Linked DNA regions of Homo sapiens: regions 1, 2 and 3 are each linked to region 4. The links are contacts of gene promoters, found by promoter capture Hi-C in blood cells and fetal thymus (Javierre and others, 2016). All regions are on one chromosome and are shown on one strand. The core of a region is centred on a gene start or on the middle of the fragment in contact, and the rest is flanking DNA. Distances in the headings are between cores, read along the strand shown.

Region 1 (5,239 bases), core at 1,043-3,542, 57 kb before region 4:
TTTAGTACACTTTAAAGCTTTCTTTATGCAACTTAATCAGATTGAAAACTTTGTTTTGTTGTGAAGGGAATGCCTGGAAAATATATAGGCTTCTTAATTTATTCTTTACTCATGTGAATTGGCAGAATAATAATGTTCTTACTTGTTTCTGGAGAGATATATGAGAGAAAATATGAACAAAAACATGAAAGATTAAAATGTTCTATGTGTAATTTTTTGTCAGGTGAAATTTCTCTTTAGAGTGAAGAAGTGTATGCTTCATGTCAGTGGATTACAGTAACTATATGCATCTATATACTCATAAAAACTAGCCTGTCTGCCTTGTTAAAAAATAATAATCCTTTCACATATTAGGGGCACAAAAATGTAAGTGTGTGTGTTCATGCTTGTGGGTTTATAAGAGTTCACACAACTTTGTTTACATTTGGTCATTTAGAGAATTTGGCTGAAAGATTACTAGTTAAAAGTAGACAAATTTATATTTGATTTCTCTTATTTAAGGAAAGTCTTAGATACATGGAGTCTCTAAATATAGTTAAGAAGCCAGTTTTTCTAGTTAACTTTTTATTATATTTTGAAAGTAATTTATTAACCCAAATTTGAATTGAAAGTTAATGAAAATAACTATGCTTTTTTTTTCAAAAATATTTTAAGGTCGGGGTACAAGTGCAGGTTTGTTTCATAGGTGAACTTATGTCATGGGGGTTTGTTGTACAGATTATTCCATCACTCAGGTATTAAGCCTAGTACTCATTAGTTTTGTTTCCTGATTTTCTCCCTCCTCCCACCCTCCACCCTCCAAAAGGCCCAGTGTGTGTTGTTCCCCTCTATGTGTCCATGTGTTCTCTTTTGCTTTTAAGTGAGAACATGCAGTGTTTGGTTTTCTGTTCCTGTGTTAGTTTGCTAAGGATAATGGCCTCCATCTCCATCCATGTCCTTACAAAGGACATGATCTCATTGCTTTTTTATGGCTCTATAGTATCCTATGGTGTATATATACCACATTTTTTAAATCCCAGTCTCTCATTGATGGGAAATTAGGTTGACTCCATGTCTTTGTTATTGTCAATAGTGCTGCAATGAACATATGCATGCATGTATCTTTATAATAGAATGGCTTATATTCCTTTGGGTATATACCCAGTAATGGAGTTCCCAGGCTGATAATTATATTTTCAACAAAACCACACATGCCATAGAAATATAATAATGAAAAATTATATTTGATAATTTCAATATATGCAATATTATTTATAGAAATCAACAAATAAAATTAATATCAACATATTCTGAAACGTAATTTATATGGGTTCTGAACTAATATCCTGTCCTCATGATTGCTGATTAGAGAAGGTTTGTCTGGAGATGATGTGTTGGGTCCTCAGTTGATGTATAGATGCTTTCATCTCAGACTGTAAGTAATGGGGTTCAGTAAGGGTGTAACTGAATAAAACACAGAAAGAAATGTATCCACTGAAAAGCTCCTAAATGGCCAAGTGTAAATGTAGACACATGGCTCATAAAAATAGAGTGACTGCAGTGATATGAGCAGACAGTGTGGACAGAGCCTTGGAGAGTGCATCAGAGGATCGATGCTGCACAGTTACCAGAATAATAGTGTAGAAAATGAGCAAGACTATGAAGCAGATGAAAGACAACTGTCCACTTTTAGCAATTACCAGCAACTCCAGATCATAAGTCTCAGTGCAGGCAAGCTTCAGAACTAGAGGAAGGTCTCAAAATAAATTGTCCACCACACTGGGGCCACAGAAGGGCAAGGTGATAATAAAAACAATCTGGCTTATAGTATGCACAAAACCAACAGCCCGTGATAGCAGCACAGAGCCCATGAGTGGCCATGAGTACCCTGCAGTTCGTGATGGTTCTGCAGTGAAGAGGTCTGCATATTGCAATGTGCTGATCAACAGCCATAAATATGAGAAGAGTCATCTCACTGCCTCCTAAGAAGTGGAGATCTGAGCCATACAGCCCCATGAGGAAGTGGTTTTATTCTCCCTGAGAACGTCTGGACCATCTTAGAGATTGTGACTGTGGAAATAAACATACTGAGAAAGGAGAGATTTCCAAGGAGGAAGTACATAGGTGTTGAGCAAAGGGGAGGATTGGAGGTTACAGCGATTGCAGTGAGGTTTCCTGCCATGATTGCTGCATAGGCCAACAAAAATATTTAAGAAACAAAATTTCAAGTTCCCAAGTGCTGATGAATTCTAACAAAACAAACTCAGATTATTATTGAGCTGTTTCTTATATCCATCTGGTAGTTTTCAAAAGCTATTTGAAATAAAGATAGTCTGAAAAAAGTTATAATTTTACCTGTGACCATTTTGAAGATATGGACATATAGAAAGTATTTGATTCCTACAGAAAGAGAGAAGATGAACATATATGAAAAATACAATTTAATTAATTCAAGTGTCATTGACATTATTGTATTTTCTTCAATCAGAAAGGCACAAAAGATGAGAAATATATTATAAAATTCTGTAATTATGGTTTGCAGACATAGATTTTTGTCTCCACGTGCATTTATTGTCTCTATGATGAGTTCATGAGTTCTTGATGCATGAGTTCAATAGGTCCATGAGTAAAATTAGTCAAATAACTATTAGCCAAATGAGTTAGTCCAAGAGTGGATAAGAGCAAAGTTGCTTAGCTTTTTGGTGCCTAGTATTCATTCTTTTCCCTCTCTCTAATTTGAAGCATTCATACATGTGCAAGTGAGTTTACTAATACACCCAGTTTAACACATTATTTTATGGCACTTTCTTCTATCTGCTATACTATACTCTTACCTCTCTCTTTTATCCCCAAATGATATACCAATGATTTCACTTATTTCTGAAGCTTTAAGCTGGCTGCAGTCTGGCATATGTTCTTACTGTTCACCCCATGCTTTTATAATTATTTTAAAATGTTAACTTTCTAGAAAGTTTCTAGATAAAATCAAAAATGTTTCCCAGGGTCCAGATGTATTTTTTTTTCTTTTAGTGTAGTATTTTGTGTCATAATTTGGTTACTGTACAAAACTCCTACCATTACTGTGCAGACCTCTTGCTTATTTTCCTGAATCTCATGTTGTTGGGCTCCTGGCTGGAGTGCTTTCTTTCTTGTCCCTTTGCAATCTGTGTTTTGTAGACAGTCTCTGAGCAACCAACAATCCTTTATGTTTGTGTTTCCTTGGCTTTTAAATGCATATCTTCCTGTACCCAGTGCTTTCCTCTGATATTTCACACACATGCAAACTGCCTCCTGACTATTTTACTGGCTCTTACATCCTTGACACTTGTATTCTATATGTCTTCCCACATTGAGCTGACACTTTCGGCTCACTTCCACTAGGTTGGTGCAAAAGTAATTGCGGTTTTGCACCAACCTAATATCTTCCGTTTAGATTTGATTCAGAAATTTAATCCTAGCTTCCTTTTCCTTCTCTTTTATTTTTATGACAATTATTAGTAAACATCACATACATACACACACACACATAGAGAGAGGGGGAGAGAGAGAGAGAGAAAAGAGACGTACACAGATGCAAATGAACATATTTATACCACATTCTAGTTCTGGAGCACCAGAAGAGAAAAAAGAAAATCTATTCTATATTTCAATTTCATGGCTTAATAGCTCATCAGATATTCAGAATACATTATTTGGCTTAAATATCTAAGTTAAAAGGAAAACCTGAAATGCCAACATTTAAATTCTAGTCCTGGCCTCAGCATTTAATAGGGAAATACACTCCTAACTCTTTTGAACATGGATTTTTTCCTGTAAAAATAAAATAATACCCAATCTTTAACCTCACAGATTGGTAGGAGGTTCTAAAGGGTAACATATATGAAATATATTTATGCATTTAATCGTATACATACAGGTGCTATGCATGTTCATTAATGAAATTCTATTCTTTAGAATTACCCCATTTTCTGGTAACTATAAAGTTACCCAAACCAATATGGACCACAGAACTTTACTTTGGAAGAATGGTAAAGAAGACTTAGTGTCAATGAAATTATTTTTCTCTATTAAATATAATTGGTAGAACTGTGTAGTTGACTACTTTATAAAAGATTAAAATTATCATCTTTAGCATCTGCTTTCAGGCAGTAATTGAATCTGCATAGTAGGTATGAAATTGTTTTTCAAAATTATGCACCTTTAATCTCCAAATACTAACAGGAGAAATTCTTGAGGAGTCTCACACAGTAATTTTTTTTAGTTTAATATGTAAAATAAGAAAATTAAGACCATAAAATTATATTTATTACTGTTTAGGCTTTTTTGAATTTTTGTAAGCATATTTTTAAAAATATCCAGCTAAGTCTATATTTAAATGGATTAAAATACATTGTTATGGATAAAATCATTCATTATGACAATTTGTGTACATGGCCAAAGATTAAATATTTTAAAAAATGTTCATTTTAAAATCAGTGCTAAAAATAAGTTAAACAAAGCAAAAGAAAACAGATCTCCTTAAGGCACAGTTAAACTTCAAATAAAAAATTTTAATTTTTGAGTATTACATGTTATACAATTAACAGTTTACTAAAAAGGAATACAAAATAACTGAATTAAATTGGATCAAATAGCATTTTATTTCTCTCTCTCTCTGGATCAAATAGCATTTGTAACTCTCTAGCATTTTCATCCCAGTCTGAGAATGGGATGAATGGCTTATGACTGGAGGACCTAGCTCTTTCAGTGCCTTTCAGGTGGCTAAAAGATGTAGCATTACTACACTTCTTTTAACTCGTTGCTTATTTAAGAATGAAAAGAATAGGATGTCCAGTACTGTGGGCATATGTTTGGTAACAAGTAATACATTTCTACAAAAGCACTAAAATAGTAGTTGGCATATGTGGAAAGGTATAACTGACAGTTATTTTTATAACAACAAGGGCTGCATGGCTTCTATTGGTCATAAGTTTTTGTTATGTTTCCTTTTCATGAAAGTGTTAAGCCATATATGGATTAATCTATGGATAATGTTCACTTATCACCAAGAAAAATGTTTGGAAAGCAAAAAATTATATTTGCTGCCAAAATAACCACTATAAATATTGTAATACACTTGTATATTCAATAGAAATATTCTCAACATTATAAGTGCAAGAAAACTTTGTTCTGATATATTTATCAAGTTAATAAAATAGAAAAAGAACCCTTTTAGATGTAGGTTAAAAAGCGCTAGTGGGTTTAGAAAATAAGGGATAGT
Region 2 (4,913 bases), core at 1,744-4,243, 39 kb before region 4:
TGTTGAACTTTTCTATTGTTTTCTAGTCTCTATTTTATTTATAGCTATTTTGTTATTTATTATTTCTTCCTTCCAGTAAATTTTAGCTTATTTTGTTGTTCTTACTCTAGTTCCTCAAGGTGTAACAGTACATTTTTTATTTGCAATCTTTCTTCTTTTTTGATGTGTTTATTGCTACATTCTTCCCTCTTAGAACTGCTTTTCCTATACATTTTGTTGTTTTTCAATTTTTATTTGTTTCAAGATTTTTTAAAAAATTTCTATTTCATTGCTTCTTTGACCTTTTGTCTATTTATAAGGTTGTGGTTTATATTCCATATATTTGTGAATTTTCTCAAATTCATCCTATTATTGATTTCTAGACTTATTGTGTTAGAAAAAGATACTTACTTAATATGATTTCAAAATTTAAAGATTTTTTCAGACTTATTTTGTGGCCTAACATGTCATCTATTTTGGAGAATGTTCTGGGCATGCTGGAGAAAAACGTACATTCTGTTGCTGTATATTCTGTTGTTGTTGTATACCCTTGCAATTTTGGCAGCGGCCCGATGTAGTCTACTTACCACCTGGTCAAGGTCACTCGCCCTGTTATCACTTGTGTAACAGTGGGCAGCTGCCTCCATTTAGGGTATGACTGAGCACATGCTGGGCATTTCTGACGAGACTCTGAGACACATAGCCTATTCTGTATGTGTCTGTTAGGTCCATTTTCTTTAAGGTGTAGCTCAACCGTAATGTTTTCTTATTGATTTTCTGTCTGAATGATTTATCCATTGTTTAAAGTTGGGTACTACACTTCCCTATTATTATTGCATTGCAGTCTATCTTTCTCTTCAGACCTACTAATATTTGCTTTATATGTTTAGGTGCTCTGCTAATGGGTGCATATATACTTACAGTTCTTATGTCTTCTGGGTACACTGATATCTTTATCATTACACAGATTTTGTCTCATTTTATAGTTTTTGACTAAAAGGCTATCTTACATCATGTAAGAATAGCTACTCCTTCTCTCTTTGATTTGCATTGGCATAGAATATCTTTTCCAATTCCTTTGTTTTCAGTCTATGTGTGTTCTTAAAGTTGAAGTCAATATCTTGTAGGCAACAAATAGTTGGGACTAGTTTGTTTTTTAAATCCATTCTGCTACTTTGTCTTTTGATTAAAGAATTTTATTTATTTAAATTTATGGTTAATATGAATAAATAAGGATGTATTATTGCCGTTTTGTTCATCATTTTCTGGTTATTTTGTTGATCTTATTTTCCTTTTTTTCCTCCCTTGCTGTCTTTATTTATAATTAGATTTCTCTCTATATATATAAATATGTGCATAATATATGTAATATATATATAATGTAAGATTTTATATACTATGACATATATTAAGACATAATACAATATATAAGATCTATTATATATATAAAGCATAGTGATATGCTTTGAATCCTTACTTTTTTGCGTGTGTGTATCTATTAAGAGTTTTTGTTTTGTGGTAACCATAAGGCTTACATAAAACATCTTATAGTTATAATGGCCTATTTTACGCTAACAATTGTACTTTGTTTGCATAAAGAACCTCTACAATTTTACTCTTCCTCTCCACAACACATTTTCTGTTTCTGATGTCACAGTTTACATATTTTGTATGTATATGCCTTAAAAATTATTGTACGTATTATTTTGATTTTTTAAATCTTTTAACCTTCATACTAAATAAGTGATTTACACACTAGCATTACAGTGTTAGAGTTCTAAATTTGACTGTGTACCTAGTTTTAACAATGAGGTTTCTTCTTTAATATGTTTTCATGTTACTAAAAGCTGTCCTTTCTTATGCTCAAAGAACTCCCATTCATGTTTCTTATAAAAAAGATTTGGTGGTAATGAAATTCCTTAGCTCTTGTTTTTCTGGGATAGTCTTTATCTCTTCTTCGTGTCTGAGGGAAAGTTTTGCTGGGTGAACTATTCTTCATTTGAAAGTTTCTTTCATTCAGCACTTTAAATATATCATCCTATTCTCTTCTGGCCTACAAGGTATCTGCAGAGAAATCTGTTAGCCTCACTGAAACTTCCTTACGTGTGATATGTTTGTTTTCTCTTGTTGCTTTCAGGATTGTCTCTTCATAATTCGTTTTTGAAAGTTTGATTATAACATGTCTTGGTATAGTCTCGTTTTGGACTGAATGTTTTGGAAGACATTTGAGTATCCAAACCTGAATGCTTCTATTTTCCCTAGATTTGGAAAGCTTTTAGGTACTATTTCTTCAAATAAGCTTTCTGTCCCTTTGCCACTCTTTTCTCCTTCTTTATCTCCTACAATTCAAATAGTTGCCTTCTTGATGTGATCCCTTAAATCCCATAACCTTTCTTTATTTTTTGATTTTTGAAATTTTGTCTCTTCTGACTATATATTTTCAAATACACTATCTTCAGGTTCATAGATTATTTTGCTTAACTCTGCTCTTAATGTTCTCTGTTGCATTTTACATTCATTAGCTATATTTTTTGGCTTCAGAATTTCTAGGTTTTTTTTTTTGTATTTTTAATCTCTCAGTTAAGTTTCTAATTTTGTTTGTTTCCTGATTTTTAATCAACTTTCCTCTGTATTTTCTTGACATTCTCTTAGCTCCCTCATAAATACAATTATAAAATCTTTGTCAAGCCATTCATATATCCCCATTTTGGGGCATCAGCTCCAGGAAAATTATTGAATTTCTTTTTTGGTGGTTATATGTCTCCTTGGCTTTTTATGTTTATTGATGCCTTGCATTGAGGTCTACACATTTGGTAAAACAGTCACCTCTTTTTGACTTTATGAGTTCATTTTGGTGTGGAAAAACCTTCCCCTATGAAGAGAAGGGTGCAAGGGCACTGGTTCTAACACCAGTGAAGAAGCAGCTGTGAATTCCAGGGCATCTCTATTAGTTGTGGTCAGTATTAATGAAGATCACAAGGATTCTTGACAGGCAATACTGTACATGTTCACAGTACCATTGAATGACTGATGTGGTCTTCATTGGCAATTGCTGCTAAGGTCCTTCCAATGTCTGTATCTCCTACTGGGAAAGTTGTGGCTGAAGGGATCCCCCTTGACACTGTGTCCAATTTGTGGGCCCACTCCAGGGACAGTGGCACCAGTTTCTGATGAGTGCTAACCATGAAGTGACTGTGGAGCTGAGGCCTGAAGCATGAGCACATGTAGAGGGACTATGGCTCTGGGGTGTAGGGTGGTATAGGCAGTGGTACCCAGGGTGCACATGCCCTCATTGTCATGTTCATAACAACATGTAAGGCACAGGTGCTTGTGAAGCAAACAAGGTACAAAGAACAGAAGCATAGGTATGCACAGTATTGACAGGATATAGGGAGAGATGATGAGTCCCATCTGAAGGGGCACAACAATGACTGTGTCTTGAGGGGGTTAAGGTGTGTGGCTGCATCTAACTCTTTAGAGTTTCCCAGCAAGAATGGCTGTTGGTTGCCTCAGTGGCAAAAGATGCCAATGTTTTCTGAAGAGAAGGCCTTTGGGACCATAGTTCTTGCTGCATGGCTGACAGTGATAACCTCTGCCTTTTTTTTGTCCTTTGCCATCTCTTCATGTCTTAAGTTTGCTGATCTCACCAGAAATCTTTTCTGTGAGGATATTCTTGACTTTTTGCTCCATTATATTTCTGTAGATTATTTAGTGGGCCCTTAAGCTTTCTCAGAACTATTTTGGTTTGTGCATAGCTGTCTATGTTTGTTTTTCTGTGGGGAGGATAAATACTGGTATCTCCTACTCCTTCATCTTGGCGATGTCACTCATTCTAGATTACATTAATTATAAAATTTATTATGATAAATTTTTCACGTTTAATTCTAACTTGTCTGAAATTAATAAATGATAGGATATGAGTTTTTATTATTACAATTAAATAATTCATTTTATTAAGAATGTATAATGCTCTGGCCAGGTGCGGTGGCTCATGCCTGTAATCCCAGCACTTTAGGAGGCTGAGGCATGTGGAGTTCGAGACCAGCCTGGCCAACATGGTGAAACCCCATCTCAACTCAAAATACAAAAAATTAGCCAGGCGTGGTGGCAGGTACCTGTAATCCCAGCTACTGGGGAGGCCAAGGCAGGAGAATCGCTTGAACCCGGGAGGCAGAGGTTGCAGTAAGCTGAGATGGCACCATTGCACCATTACACTCCAGCCTGGGCAACAAGAGTGAAACTCTGTCAAAAAAAATAAATAAATAAATAAAAAAGAAAGAAAACGGATAATGCTCCCTTTATATTTATTTAAATTGGAGATAAGTCTGGCTACTTTTTAGATCTATTCATTTTTGTCATTGTTTTTGTGTTCTTAAAATTTTTGTCTTCTTTTATGGCTCACAGAAAAGTTTTGTCATCTTCATTTTGTCAGCAATGTTTTTGTAACATATTTGTGGTTAAATAAAATTTGCGTATTTCCTACTTTGATGCTATACTTAATATGATTTTTCTCTTTATATTAATTCATCTTATTGCTATTGTTATCTGTAAATGTTTTATATATATATATATTTAAGTGGTAAATGGAATCAAATCTCATGTTCAATATTTTTCTAATTGGTTCTCTTCTATTTTTTGTATTATTGATAAGATAGATAATATTCACATTAAAATATTTCTCTACTATTATTTTATTACCTTATTTCATTAACTTGAAATTTTTGAGCAATATTGAATACCAATGGTGATAACTGGCTATGGTAGAACTCGTTGGTTTCCCAGTAATGATTCTTTCTTCTTTCTTGGTAATTGAAACCATATATTCTCTGGGATAGGCTGACTATGTGCTTCCATGGAGGATCAAATCTTTTTCATAAGACATCTGTCTAGGACAATCAAAGTGCTTTCACTTCACTCACCAGAGACTAGTTTAG
Region 3 (5,027 bases), core at 1,530-4,029, 36 kb after region 4:
CATTATTTGAAAAGTTATTATTTTAACCTCAGATTTTCTACTTTCAAAAATTCATATCAATGTCTCATGTCTCCTGCTTTTTCCAAGTAAGCCCATTTCTGACCCAGAGCTTCTGCATGGCTGACTTTACCTCTTTGTTCCGAAGTGTGTAGATGAGGGGGTTTAGCATTGGGGTAATAACATTGTAGAGTACAGACACCATCTTGTCCACAGAAAATGTAGAGAAAGGACGAGCGTAGATGAAAATACAGGGTCCAAAAAACAGTGTTACCACCATGAGGTGAGAGGCACACGTGGAGAGTGCCTTTCGCCTTCCTTCCTTGGAGCGAATCTTGACTAGGATAGTGGTGTAGGAGGAAATCAGCACCACAAAGGAGATGGTGGAGATCAACCCACTGTTAGATACCATGAGCAATTCAATGACAAAAGTGTCAGCACAAGCAAGTTTGATGACAGGGGGAACATCACAAAAAAAAGTTTTCCACCTGATTTGGCCCACAAAAGGGTAGATGGACAGTGAGAATGGTCTGGACAGTGGAGTGCACAAATCCTCCCATCCAGGAGGCAGCAACCAACACACAGCATAACCCCCGACTCATGACAGTGGTGTAGTGCAGCGGGCGACAGATTGCAACATAGCGATCGTACGCCATCACTGTGAGCAGGAACATCTCAGCTGCCCCTACAAAATGCAGGAAGAAGAGTTGCACAATGCATTGGTCATAGGAAATGAGTTTTTCATGATTAAAGAAGTCAGCCAGAAGCTTAGGGGTCGTTACTGTTGAATAACATAGGTCCAGAAATGAGAGGTTGCCAAGAAGGAAATACATGGGTGATGAATTCAGGTATTTATCAGATGCTACTGTGACCATGATGAGGACATTGCCAACCCAAATGGACATATAGAAGAAAAGAAATAGTACAAATAGCCCTGCTTCAATAGATGGTGTCTGTGAGAACCCTGACAAGAAAAATTCTCTCATCACTTCTGTTTGGTTTTTATCCATTTGATCTGGCTCTACCTAGATCAAAGAGATTAAACAATAGGGCATTAGTGACATTTAAAATGAATGAGGTAATTCATATCAAATACAAGACTCTGCTCATTTCAAAAGAGAGATTTTTCATCCTCTAAGATACATCCTGATTAATTAGCTGGAAGAAATTATTTTCTCCTTACCTAATATAAATGTATATTATTTCACCAGCTGCAACCTCAAGACACTGATGACATGGCCAAGGTTGATTAGAACATGAAGTTACCTGGCTCCAAGCTACTAACTTCCACATGATGCATTTCTGTCTTCCAACATTCAACACATTACTTCTCTCTCCTTTTCCACATTCAGTCTCAAGAAATGTTATATTTTTCTGAAATTTTTTTTTAATAAGAATATTTGGGGAAAAAATAAAATCAAAGGTAGAATTTCAGATTCCAGTAAATGGACATTAGATCTGTAGAGCTTTTATTTGAGAAAAGGGAATCCCTGTACCCTTTGCCATCAAGAAAACTCTTGTAGGACTCTAACCTGTGCACATAGCTACAGGAAAGATCACATTCCACTTGGGATTATTGCTAGTTCAATGACCTCTTAGTATATTTTCTTTGATATGCCTCTTCAGCTTACCATATTCTATAATACACTTATTTCCAGTTTATTATTGTAAATGATATATTTCTTATCTTAAATCATACCTGTGGGCATATAGGTACACATTATGCTTATAATGATCTAAATATAATTATAAAATGGTTATTCATGCATTGAAATGACTCTCCTTTGACTAGTCTATCAAATCAAATAAAAATCAACTATTTCTCTGAGATAAAAATAGCAATTTGTATGTTGTGTATATTTTTTCCATTTACATAAACAATAGCTGGAACATGCTACTGTATGAGTTGAAATGGGTGATGGTCCACGGAGAACTGCGGGGAGGGGTGTTTTTGGTGTTTTGTGATAGCTGTTATTCACTCAAATTCTATAGTTAAGTTGTGCCATACACAGAGCAACATTTTGAAGACTTAAGACATAATAGTTAGATAGCAATTTATAGTTTAAATATTGAATTTTATTCACCTTATTTTAGTTTATGCCACTGTTAAATCTATAAACGGTATACTTTCATTTAGGCAAATCGACGAGGATAAAAATATTAAAAAAATAATTTTAAACTAAACAAAAGTTAGCTTAAAAATAATAAAATTTACATATTCCTTATTTAAGGCAATGATGTAAATATAAAGATTACATCAATTATATGTAAGAGTTAAAAATATCAAGACACTATGAGGTAAAACTTCCAAATTTAAATATTAGTTTGTTGAACTGGTGTTTAAAAAATATTTATTAACTTTAGAAAATGGTCACATAATAAAAGAAAAAACAGGACACAAAACTATACTTAAAATATGATACAATCTATATATACAGAAAAGTTAAATTATATAAGACACTAGACTACATGTAAAGGCAATAAAATATTTATAAAAATTCACCTTAACAATTGAGACTTTCTTCTTACCTACTGAGAGTTCCTATGCATATCTGTAGGGTTTATGACATTTTATTCTTATATACAAAAATCCAAAAAATGGATTTTTTCTCTTTCTGCAACTTAATTATTACTTAACATTTCAGGTAATAATTTCTCTTAATTATAATCCATTTAACTTGTTTTGAGAGTAAAAGTTGTCTAGATATAACATCAAATAATCTCACTTTCAGAATCATGAAAAACATGAAGAAAATAATTATCTTCCCAATTCTCAGAAGCAAAGATTGTTAATTTTGCTAGCCATATACTCTTAAAACCTTTTAAAAATGCATTGTTTGATTTACACAATATAACATTGCATAGACAATATTATATTGAAAAAGAGCACAATTAGCATTGAATACTACTTCTGCAGGTAGGCCCTGATGACAGGAGCATGAAGAAAGGCTGTCAGTATAATAGATTTTAAGTCAAATTACATACCTTCTTGTCTGTAAATTCTTAGGTCCTGCAGTCATGGACTCCTGGCACATTAACAGTATACAACCATCCTAGATATTATAGACCAAGAAAATTAATGAATTAAGATGAAAACCCCTGGTTACACTGGCCACCATTACGAAATTTTGATGTTTAGGGATTTCAAGATTCAGCTACTCACAGTCAAATCACAAAGGAAATCATTAAAAATTTTTAATCAATCCTTTTTCAGAAATTATGAAACATAAAAATATATGGGATGTGAGGGTAGAAAGCAATTAATAGAAGAGGAAAAGAAGATCTGAGAGTTGTAATAATGTCAGCTGGATTTTATAGAGAGGTAAGGGTCCCCCTGGCCCACATGGCTGAGGTTAGTGGAAAGGGTGATGAAACATTAAGGAAAATTTGGCTTGAAGGGCCTTGCATTTCTTCTACCAGTACACCTTTGCTTGTACTGCTTTATCTGGAGTACCTTTTCTAATCAGAATTATTGACGTTAGATTTAATTTAATTTTGTTTAATATTACAAAAATGTCTTAAGTAAATATAAAAGTTTCCACTTTGTTCTTTTTCTGCCTCTATACCACTGAGAGGGGAAGAGAGGGAAGAGAAAGAGCGAGAAAGGCTTTCCTCAATACAGTAATATACCGTGGATGTGATTTCGTGTGCTATATTCAGCTCTAATTATTATTACTAATTTTTTTTAGATGGAGTCTTTCTCTGTCCCCCAGGCTGGAGTGCAGTGGCCCCATCTTGGCTCACTGCAACCTCCACCTCCCAGGTTCAAGCAATTCTCCTGCCTCAGCCTCCTGAGTAGCTGGGATTACAGGCCCATGCCACCACTCCTGGCTATAGTTCTAATTATTTTTAACTGATATATGATAATAAAACCATCAAATATGGTATGTTATAATAAAATATTCTATCAATGGGGTTGTAGATCATCTATTTTATCATTATAATAAAAGATTCTACAGTGAACAATTTGTTCATATTTCTTCAGACTGCTATTCAGTATATGTAAGAGACAGAGGCTGAAAGTAAAATTTCTGAGACAAATGTGGACAGGTATTTCTCCCCCAAAAAACTGTAGTAATGTATACTTCCATGAGCCATGTATGTGATGCTATTTTCATATTCTTTCCTACACTAGATAATATCATTCTTCAATTTTAATGATAATTTTTCAAATATGATGTATAATAATGATAGTACATTTTAGTTTGCATTTGCCTCAGCAGCACTGTGGATGAACATCTTTTCAGATTTTTATTAGTCACACATATTTTAATTCTAAAAATTGCATGTTCATCACTTTAATTTCTGAATGTTTATCATATTTTCTTTATTAATGTATGAAAGTTCTCTAGACTTCAAAAATATTAAACAATACAAATGTTTGAAACATTTATTGCAAACCTAAATTTACAGCTGATTGAATTTTTGCTTATGTAAACTTCCAACCAGATGGAGACAGAACATTAACAATGCCTCAGATGACTTCCTCACTCCTCCCAACAAAACGCCTAAAGCTAACCTCTTTTATAACCTCTATCGCCTTTGATTAATTTTGCCTGTGTTTGAACTTTGTATAAATGGGATTATAAAATATATACCCTTTCTATGTGTGTTGATTACTTTGATTTGACATTATGACTGAAATTTATTCTAGTTATTGCGTGTGTCATTATACATTTTTATTACTAACAATCTTTATTATTTCTTCCATTATTTAAGCATACGACTGTTTATACATTGTACTGTTGCTGGATATTTGGGTAGTTTCTCATTTTTGGCTAATACAAAAAAAGCTTTTATGAACATTCCTGTACATATTTTGATGGACATTGTATTCATTTCTGATGGATGTACACTAGGAGTGTAACTTTTCAATCCTAAAGTAGATGTATATCTAATTTGATAAGAAACTATAAAACATTCTTCAGATACAGTTGTATCAATTTACAATACCACCACTGTTGTAACAGAGTTTACATCGCTCCATATTCTCCTCAACATCTACCTTTAAAAAGAAAAATAATTTAGTT
Region 4 (4,705 bases), core at 589-3,088:
CAAATCAAAACCACAATGAGATATCACCTCACACCAGTTAGAATGGCAATCATTAAAAAATCAGGAAACAACAGGTGCTGGAGAGGATCTGGAGAAATAGGAATACTTTTACACTGTTGGTGGGACTGTAAACTAGTTCAACCATTGTGGAAGTCAGTGTGGCGATTCCTCAGGGATCTAGAACTAGAAATACCATTTGACCCAGCCATCCCATTACTGGGTTTATACCCAAAGGACTATAAATCATGCTACTAGAAAGACACATGCACACGTATGTTTATTGCGGCATTATTCACAATAGCAAAGACTTGGAACCAACCCAAATGTCCAACAATGATAGACTGGATTAAGAAAATGTGGCACATATACACCATGGAATACTATGCAGCCATAAAAAATGATGAGTTCATGTCCTTTGTAGGGACATGGATGAAATTGGAAATCATCATTCTCAGTAAATTATCGCAAGAACAAAAAACCAAACACCGCATATTCTCACTCATAGGTGGGAATTGAACAATGAGAACACATGGACACAGGAAGGGGAATGTCACACTCTGGGGACTGTTGTGGGGTGGGGGAAGGGGGGAGGGATAGCATTGGGAGAGATACCTAATGCTAGATGACGAGTTAGTGGGTACAGCACACCAGCAGGGCACTTGTATACATATGTAACTAACCTGCACATTGTGCACATGTACCCTAAATCTTAAAGTATAATAATTAAAAAAAAAAAAAGAAAAAAAAAGAAAATAATATTGGATTTTTAGGGTGGGTGAGGAGTTGATTATGAATATCCAGGAGAAGTTAGGGATTGATAAGGTAGTTATCACAGGTTTATAAAGAAGAGAGTGATATGATGAAAAATAATTTTTATAGGTAATGTTAAATTCATTCTAAGAATAAACTGTATTTGTGGGGAGATTACATTATGCAACATCTACAAAGTGGAATTCTATACACCTATTAAAAAGTTATGTTTCTATATGTTAATATAAACATATTTAAATGTAATAAGTTAAAAACTCAAGAAAAATAGCTATACATATAATATATAATCTGCAGTCTTAATAAAATGATATAAATATAAATACCTGTAACACTAACACACACACACTGTACTGAAGTGTGTATTATTTTTCTGGAAAGTTATCTAAGAAGCTCTTAAAATGTTCAGTCAGTCTTTCTGTTATCTGTGATGTGCTTTTTTCACATTGGCATAAACTACCTTTTTTTTTAAAAGATAATTAAAAGAAAAAAACATATTTTAACCAGCTTTTTAAGAATGGCTGTTCTATTTCTGATTTTAAAATACTTCAACATTCAATTTGACATTTAAAAATAAATATTGTTAAAATTCCTAATGTTGTGGATTTTTCTGTGGATTAAGTCAGCTGACTTAATCTAGATCCTGAATATGCACTACATAGTTTATTCATTCAACAGATATTCACTTAGTGTTTTTGATATGCACTATTCCAGATGTGGAGGATTTATAAACTTCTTTGTATGTATTTGAAAATTGTTCTCTTCTGTTTAAATGCAGCTTCAAAAATTGGGTTTCAAAAAGAAGCATTAGTAGGAATTCTTAAATATTAGTCATAAAACTGAAGAGAGCTATTACCTTTATAGACATATAAATGAATGGCTCTAATTACATATTTGATGAAATTTAATATTTTGCATCAAAGTTTCTCAGAGTGGGAAATTGGCCAACAGATATGTTTACATAGGGAAAAAAATACATCCCTAGTTGGATAAGTGTTCCTATGGGATTATCTCATAGAAACATATAGCACTATGGTCTCTATTTTTTCTGTTTCTGATGATTGGAAGAGTAAATTGCAGATAACTGATGGGGATACAGGAAAAGGAGATAAAAGGCCATTCCTGGGATTCACGTACGACGCCATCACGAAAGTTTTTTTCCCCTGTCTTGTAAGTAATAACAGCACAAAAAGATGACTACAAATACTTTATTTACTGAAGGTGTTTTGTAAGACCTAGATTAATTTAAAACTATTAGCAACGGAGGCAATTTTTTTAAAAGCTGAACCAATAGAACCAGTTTGTAATAAGCATGAGCCGATGACAAATTTTGTCATAAATTTAGATTATACTGAAAGAACTGTATTTCTTTTACCAACATAAATGTTACATCAAGCTAAGTCATTTTGAAACCTATGACAACCATACACAGGCCAACCAGCTAACCACTACATAGCAATAACCAGGTAAATGAATAAATGAATGCAAGCTGAAAGTGAAATTAGTCAATTACATTTGACTGTGGGTTGTTTGTACACATTGTCTAACCATCTAGAGGAGGTATTTGATGTGAATAATATGAAATGTTGAATGAACGAATTATATAAATATATATAAATATATGAAATGTATGTAATATACATGTTTAATATATATATACTATACATATACTTGACACTTCAAAAGTGTGTAGTGACTACTGCTAATACTGATCTGTGAGGGATTCATGCAAGAATGGAGCATGGAGGAAATAAGGTAAGTTTCTCAGGACCTAATTCATATTTCTTTACCAGAGTCCATTTCAAAACATGGTTCTTGAGAATCCTGGATGTATTTTTGATATCCTTTCCACATTAATAAAACTCAATATTATTCTGTGACTATAAAACTCACCAGAATCATTATCTTATTCATAGAGATCTTTATAGCAGAAAGAGGCATTCGATACCATATAGTCCAAATTCTTTTTTTCACTGAGAAGAAAACCCTCAAAAGGAGAGTTACTTGTCCTGTGTCACCCAGTGAGCAGCTTACCCAGGTGTCCTGTAGAGGTCTTCTGATTCTAATTCATGACCTATAGTTTTGTGGTTTCATGTACTATTAATGTTTTTATTTTTGTCTTCCAGAAACTTATATTCTGAATTCTACTGACTATTTGGGATACTTCTCTGGGCCATTAGTAAAATCACTGACTGACAAAATTCCACAAAAGTAAGGGTCCTTGTAAGTTCAAGTGCCTTGACTGAGTACCAAATGTGGACATCAACATGAACATTTCTTTCCAATATGCATCATTTCCCTACCCCTTATTCTCACTTATTTTGATCATTATGGGATAAAGTTGACGATATGGAAAGAGCAAACCATTCAGTGGTATCGGAATTTATTTTGTTGGGACTTTCCAAATCTCAAAATCTTCAGATTTTATTCTTCTTGGGATTCTCTGTGGTCTTCGTGGGGATTGTGTTAGGAAACCTGCTCATCTTGGTGACTGTGACCTTTGATTCGCTCCTTCACACACCAATGTATTTTCTGCTTAGCAACCTCTCCTGCATTGATATGATCCTGGCTTCTTTTGCTACCCCTAAGATGATTGTAGATTTCCTCCGAGAACGTAAGACCATCTCATGGTGGGGATGTTATTCCCAGATGTTCTTTATGCACCTCCTGGGTGGGAGTGAGATGATGTTGCTTGTAGCCATGGCAATAGACAGGTATGTTGCCATATGCAAACCCCTCCATTACATGACCATCATGAGCCCACGGGTGCTCACTGGGCTACTGTTATCCTCCTATGCAGTTGGATTTGTGCACTCATCTAGTCAAATGGCTTTCATGTTGACTTTGCCCTTCTGTGGTCCCAATGTTATAGACAGCTTTTTCTGTGACCTTCCCCTTGTGATTAAACTTGCCTGCAAGGACACCTACATCCTACAGCTCCTGGTCATTGCTGACAGTGGGCTCCTGTCACTGGTCTGCTTCCTCCTCTTGCTTGTCTCCTATGGAGTCATAATATTCTCAGTTAGGTACCGTGCTGCTAGTCGATCCTCTAAGGCTTTCTCCACTCTCTCAGCTCACATCACAGTTGTGACTCTGTTCTTTGCTCCGTGTGTCTTTATCTACGTCTGGCCCTTCAGCAGATACTCGGTAGATAAAATTCTTTCTGTGTTTTACACAATTTTCACACCTCTCTTAAATCCTATTATTTATACATTAAGAAATCAAGAGGTAAAAGCAGCCATTAAAAAAAGACTCTGCATATAAATTTAAAGCATACTTTTTAGATGAGACTTTTGAAGAGACACTCTCTTGTTTGTTTGAACATTTAAGAAACTCGTTTTTAATGTATCAGGTTCGTGCAAAAGTCATTGCGGTTTTTGCCATTAAAGTAAATGACAAAATTAAAGTAATGGCAAAAACCACTATAACTTGTGTACCAGCTAACAGTTCAAGTTCCATATGAGGAAATAGTAGATGTAATTGTTAAAAAGCAAACACCTTTTTGTGATCTTTTATGGTCAAACACATAATATCTACAGTTTGGCTTGTATACATTTAAATCCCACCTTTATCAGTTTCTCTGGTGCAAATTTGAAGAAAATAAATAAGTTCCCTGTGATTTAGTTTTTTCGTCTATACAACCTTGTTTATATGCATCTTTCATTATTATTTTAGCATGCTCTTAAACCTCAGAAAACACATTATTATTGTTAGGTTTTTTGTTGTTGTTATTGGTAATCTATGTTTAGAGAAAGCACACAGATGACATCTCATCACGGTTATTTATCCAAGTGCCTTACAGGCTAGAAAACTGCATGTTCTGGGTAATCCCTGATTAGTGTGTATTAAATTATACTAAGTTGTTTTCCATAAACACAGTGTGTTCACCATTCTTCACATATTTTGTGAGCCTACAGAATGCCAGAAGATATAGCCA

The links. Contacts are between HindIII fragments. The CHiCAGO score rates a contact against its expected background, and 5 or more counts as called.
Region 1: a fragment that was not itself captured here is called in contact with the fragment with the promoter of OR4K13 in region 4 in 4 of 17 cell types (naive B cells, neutrophils, fetal thymus and 1 more); the score reaches 6.5 in naive B cells.
Region 2: a fragment that was not itself captured here is called in contact with the fragment with the promoter of OR4K13 in region 4 in 5 of 17 cell types (fetal thymus, M2 macrophages, naive B cells and 2 more); the score reaches 6.3 in fetal thymus.
Region 3: a contact is called between a fragment that was not itself captured here and the fragment with the promoter of OR4K13 in region 4, in 2 of 17 cell types (fetal thymus and neutrophils). The highest score is 7.1, in fetal thymus.

What each region holds. Positions count from the first base shown.
Region 1 is chr14:20,090,380-20,095,618 of GRCh38, reverse strand. It overlaps the pseudogene OR4T1P. Among named protein-coding and RNA genes, the nearest start is that of OR4K17, 18 kb to the left of the region's middle. The HindIII fragment of the contact is 1,150 bases long and covers 1,718-2,867 here.
Region 2 is chr14:20,072,944-20,077,856 of GRCh38, reverse strand. No RefSeq gene overlaps it. Among named protein-coding and RNA genes, the nearest start is that of OR4L1, 15 kb to the right of the region's middle. The HindIII fragment of the contact is 1,425 bases long and covers 2,281-3,705 here.
Region 3 is chr14:19,998,143-20,003,169 of GRCh38, reverse strand. It overlaps the pseudogene OR4Q2. Among named protein-coding and RNA genes, the nearest start is that of OR4K14, 19 kb to the left of the region's middle. The HindIII fragment of the contact is 4,026 bases long and covers 767-4,792 here.
Region 4 is chr14:20,033,171-20,037,875 of GRCh38, reverse strand. It overlaps OR4K13 (olfactory receptor family 4 subfamily K member 13), which reads left to right and starts at 1,838. Exons shown (of 2, transcript NM_001004714.2): 1 at 1,838-1,938; 2 at 2,895-4,705. The coding sequence starts at 3,118. The coding sequence ends at 4,032. The HindIII fragment of the contact is 9,053 bases long and covers 1-4,705 here.